Regions from separate parts of the Homo sapiens genome. Here region 2 is linked to region 1. Evidence: promoter capture Hi-C in 16 types of primary human blood cells and fetal thymus (Javierre and others, 2016). All regions are on one chromosome and are shown on one strand. The core of a region is centred on a gene start or on the middle of the fragment in contact, and the rest is flanking DNA. Distances in the headings are between cores, read along the strand shown.

Region 1 (2,700 bases), core at 74-2,573:
TACAAGCATGAGCCACCGCGCCCGACCTAGTTTTTGTATTTTTAGTAGACAGGGTTTCATCATGTTGACCAGGATAGTCTCAAACTCCTGACCTCAGGCAATCCGCCTGCCTCGGCCTTCCCAATTGCTGGGATTACAGGCGTGAGCCACTGCACCCGGCCTCATACAGCTCTAATGCCACGCATCAAGTTCTGCATGTACAATCTCTCATTTTGGCCTCTCAGCAACCCCCCATGTGCTAGGGACAGTAAATTCTATTGTTCTCACTTTGCAGATAAGAAGACTGCAATTCAGGAAGACATATAGTAGTCTATAAGTGATTCAGGACTGGAACTCAGTTATCCTAATTCCCTCTCGGAGGCTCTTTCCACCATGCCATCTGCTCGTCTGGTGCTTTCCATCCATGAACTCTGGAAAACAAGCTTGAGATACCAAAATTGAAAAGACAGCTCATCAAAAATGAATAGTTATAATTCTATAAGTACAAAAATGAAATACTCAAATCTCTTGCCCCCCCTCCTGCTAGGAGCATAAATGTTAACCTGAGTTCTCTAGCTCTGTACAAATCCACAGCAATTAAGACTGCACTGTGAGGGAAAATACTTTTCTAAAAAAGAATCCTGATCAAGTTGAAACAAAAATTTTAAAACATGAAATGGAAGGAACGAAACTGTCGTCCTCCCTTATTTCTGACCCACACTTGTCGATTTTCATGACGGAGTTTCTCAAGCCAGGGGCATATGGCCAAAGACCATGTGAAATGCCAGGTGTTCCAAATAACAACCGACGGGGTACTGGAAGGAAAGCACTGCCTCCCCGGGGAACAAATGGCCCAATTTCCAGACTTAGTTTTCTGCAGTCTCAAACCCGATGTTGCACCAAGAAACCACCTAATCTTTAGGTGGTTTCGTTTACCGAAAAATGAGGTGACTGGTTCAGTGCGCATATGTGAATTTAAGGGTAACACTGTACTCACGCTTTGCATATTTAAATTCTCAAATATTCACTTAATATATGCATAGACCATTGTCACTTCGTCAGAAGTCGCGTCCTGCCCAGTTGCGCGAGACTCCAACGGGCCTTCTTGCGACGCTCGGGTCTGGGTCCGGGTCCGGACGTGCAACAGAAGCCGTCAGTGGCCCCGCTGGCTAAAAAAGGGCAAGCATCGGAGGCTCGAGCCAGCGGCCGCGGCGCTTCCCGACAGTTCCTAATTCGGGGCGCTACGCCGGCCCCACCACCTGTTCCCGGCAGCCAATGGGGCCGCGGGGGGCGGCCGGGGCGGAGCGCGGCTACAAAAGGCCTCGGGCCCCGCGCGCCCGCCCACCCCGCTCCGGGCGCGCTCTCGGGAAGGCTTGGACCGACGCGGCCCAGAGGCCAGGAACATTCCGCGCGTGGACCAGCCGGGCCAGGGCGATGCTGCGGGTGCGGTGTCTGCGCGGCGGGAGCCGCGGCGCCGAGGCGGTGCACTACATCGGATCTCGGGTGCGTGCGCCACCGGCCTCGTCTGGCGGCCGCGTGACTCACTCGATCCTGCGGGCGGCGTGGAGCACTCGCTCGCTCCCTGCCCGGAGCCGCCACCTTCCCTCGCTTTCCCTAGCCGGAATTGCACGAGAGTGTCCCTTCTGGTATCCCTGGGAAGCTCAGCTTCAAGAGCCTTCGCAGGCTCCAGGAGCTGGGCGGCGTCCCCCAGTCAGGGGGAACTTGCGTTGCGGCTCCAGCCCTTGGGGTCCACTTGCTGTCTGCGCGTCCGCGGCCTGCTGGCCCACGGCGCAGGGGGCGCCGCCCCCCTCTACCGGACCTTGGTGCGCTGCACCAAGCTTCCCGCTCGGAGCAAGGGGTTGGGACGACGGAGGCTCCTCTTAGTAAAAGGGTGGCGTTATTGGGGTTCAGTAGCCTGAGTGGGCGTCGAGTTGGGGAGATTTCTGGAAAATGCGTGTGGGGTAGATGGATGGGGAGAAGAGGCAAGCAAAGTGGGAATCGGGGACGGGGAGCGAGCGACCAGATTCACTCCAAGTATAACATGGGATCCCACGTCTGGAGAGGAGTCGGGGCGAGTGCAGCCTGTAAGCAGAGTTTCTGCGCTCCCCGCCCTCGGCTGCCCTGGCAGCAGACCCTCCCATGCTTCTAGTACTGGAATCGCTCCGACATTCTGGCTTCCTCCCAGCAACTGGTTCCTGAACAGCTGTCATTCTCCGTCTTTCTTCTGCCTCCACCCGAGTTCTCCTCCTGCCCACTTCCTAAGGCTTTTAACAGAGCAGGATAGAGATTTGGGGGGTTGAGGTTTGCTCAGGGGTTGAGGGACCCTCCCTGCTCTAGATTTTATAGGCCATGCATTTTTAAAAGGCTTTTGAAGTTTTTAGATCTCCTTCTTATTTGTTTGAATTTACGCCTGAGCTAATCCTGACCTTGGCTAGGGTACTGTGGACCATCTGTAAAATGGAGCAGATGGCAGTTGCTCACTCTCAGAATTGAAGTGCCAAAGAATGCGAAGTGTATGTCAAAGATGAAAAAAATTTGATTTGAAGCTGGTTATTCTGAAAGATAAGGTCCTTTACAAATGTTCCCAACTTTTCATTTGTAAAAAAAAATAAATAAAAAGCCTAATATTGGTAACCTTTGATACTTAAGGGAAAAGGAGGTTCCGTCCCCAGCTGAGACTGGCGGGAAGTTTTAGAGCAGCTGTCTATGGTTTTCTGAGAG
Region 2 (2,700 bases), core at 31-2,530, 52 kb after region 1:
GGCAGGAGAATTGCTTGAACCCAGGAGGCGGAGGTTGCAGTGAGCCGAGATTGCACCACTGCACCCCAGCCTGGGCAACAGAGTGAGACTCCATCTCAAAAAAAAAAAAAAAAAAAAAAGAAGTGAAGAAATGATTTCTTTTTTTGTTGCTATCCCTACTTTTATACCTAAATTTTGGCCAACTAATGTATACTGAAAATATAAATAGAGCATACAGGTTCCAATGATGAGTTACTTTGTTGATAAAGAAGCTTGTGGGTGAAGTGTTAGCAAAACCTTTTCTCTCCTACATGAAAATTTGACTTTTGGTTAACTTTCTACATCTTTTCCACTGGCAACCTAATAAGGACTGTGATACTGTGATATAGTAAGAAATACATATTGGGTCTTCAGGCCCCCAGTTTCTGGTACAGAGATTCTAAAATTCTGGTAACTTCCCGAGTGATAGGAGTGACAGGAGCGTCTTTTGTTAAAATCGCTGGTTTTTATCCCTGGTTCCAGGCGCAGAGCTTCTAAAAACTCTTTGAATTTTCTGAGCAATCGAGGTGACAGGAGCATCTTTTGTTATTTTCAACAAGCTCTTTTCGAGTGTACATGAATTATGTTAATTAGATGACTGGTGGCTGGAAGCCCATAGATAGCTTCAGGATGGGCACTGGTTGCCAGAGGAACCAAACATGTGATTATAGAGGATTGGAACTTTCAGCCCTACTCACCCCGAGGGAGGGAGAGAAAAGCTGGATTGAGTAAATCACCAATGGCCCATGATTTAAGCAATCACGCCTATGTAATAGAACCTCCATAAAAACCCTAAACAAAGGGCTTCAGAGAGCTTCTGAGTTGGAAAACACATCGAGCGGCTGATGAAGCCATCCCCACAGGGTTGACAAGGATTTCATGCTGAGTTCTGGGCAGAAATTTCGTTATAATTAAGCCTTAATCAGGCTGCACTTTGGCTCATTTCCTTGTTGCTGAAAGTCAATAGCACTAGATACTGCCCATTTGCACCCCCATTATTCCTATAGACAGGATCACCGCCGTTAGAATCATATGGCTTTTGTTTGAAGGTTGCCTAAGATGTTTTCAGATCCCAAACTCCAGTGAAACAGCTGAAACCAACCAGTTTGAAGACCCCCACAGAGAAATGGAATCAGCATGAGAATACAGCTTCTTCATCTTTCTGTCCCATGACTTTACCCTGCACTCTTCAACCAATCAATGATCTTCACACTTCAGCCCACTCCAAAACCCTTAAAATCTCTAGCCCCAGGCCGGGCACGGTGGCTCACGCCTGTAAACTTTGGGAGGTCCAGGTGAGTGGATCACCTGAAGTTAGGAGTTCAAGACCAGCCTGGCCAACATGGTGAAACCCCTGTCTCTACTAAAAATACAAAAATTAGCTGGGCATGGTGGCAGGAGTCTGTAATCCCAGCTACTCTGGAGGCTGAGGCGGGAGAATTGCTTGAACCTGGGAGGCAGAGGTGGCAATGAGCCGAGATGGCACCATTGCACTCCAGCCTGGGCGACACAAGCAAAACTCCATCGCAAAAAAAAAAAAAAAGCCCACAAAATCTCTAGCCCCAGATTGCTTGGGAGATGGAGTTGAGGTTTCCTCCCATCTCCTAGTTCGGAGACCCTACAATTAAACCTCTTTCTCTGCTGCACCCTGGTGTCTCTGCCTACTGACTTGCTGTGCACATGGGACAATGGATCTGCTACAGTTACACCGAGAGGGTGGGGTGCCCAGGGAGGGCACTGGAGCTCTGCACATCTCCCGTTTCACACCTTGTCCTCTGCCTGTTCATCTGTAGCCTTTATAATATCATTTATAAATAAACTGCTAAATGTCAGTATAATGATTTCCTGAGTTTTACAAGCCATTCTAGCAAATTATTGAACCTGAGGAGAGGGTTGTGGAAACCCCTAGTTTATAGCCATTAAGACAGAAGTATGGGAGGCTCAGCTTGTGATTGGCATCTGAAGTCTTGTGGGCAGTCTTGTGGGACTGGGCCCTTTCAACTGTGCCATCTGATACTAACACCAGGTAACTAGTGTCAGAATTGAATTCAATTGAATTATTGGATACCCAGTTGGTTTCTGGAGAGAAGGAGAATTTGAGGTTGGCATGGGAAAAAAAAAACACCACATATTTGGTGTCAGACATGTTCTATGGGTAAAAAATAGATCATAGTAATACAGTTCCCCCTTGAACAAGCTGGGGGTTAGAGGTGCTGACCTCCCAACACAGTTGAAAATCTAAGTATAATGTTTTACTTCCCAGGAACTTAACTACTTGATGAGAAGCTTTACCAATAACATAAACCGTTGATTAGCATATTTTATATGTTATATGTATTATATACTATATTTATACAATGAGGAAAGCTAGAAAAAAGAAAAACATTATTAAAATCATAAGGAAGAGAAAATATATCTTTATTAAGCGGAAGTAGATCATTATAAAGGTCTTCACCTCATCATCTTCGTGTTCAGTAGACTGAGGAAGAAGAGGGAGAGAAGGGGTTAGTCTTGCTGTCTCAGGGGTGGCAAAGGCAGAAAAAAGTTCATATATAAGTGGACCCATGCAGTTCAAACCTGTGTTGTTCAAGGGTCAGTTGTAGTAGGAGAAGGAGAAGGAGAAAGGAAACTATGTCACTTTTGTTGCTTGACAACCTACTTATGGTAAAATGACCCTGATTG

The links. Contacts are between HindIII fragments. The CHiCAGO score rates a contact against its expected background, and 5 or more counts as called.
Region 2: a contact is called between a fragment that was not itself captured here and the fragment with the promoter of GATM in region 1, in 2 of 17 cell types (M2 macrophages and M1 macrophages). The highest score is 5.8, in M2 macrophages.

Annotation. Positions count from the first base shown.
Region 1 is chr15:45,377,167-45,379,866 of GRCh38, reverse strand. It overlaps GATM (glycine amidinotransferase), which reads left to right and starts at 1,323. Exons shown (of 9, transcript NM_001482.3): 1 at 1,323-1,482. The coding sequence starts at 1,414. RefSeq lists an enhancer at 975-1,054 and a silencer at 1,195-1,524. The HindIII fragment of the contact is 1,395 bases long and covers 425-1,819 here.
Region 2 is chr15:45,324,965-45,327,664 of GRCh38, reverse strand. No RefSeq gene overlaps it. Among named protein-coding and RNA genes, the nearest start is that of SLC28A2-AS1, 47 kb to the right of the region's middle. RefSeq lists an enhancer at 473-1,403. The HindIII fragment of the contact is 2,053 bases long and covers 254-2,306 here.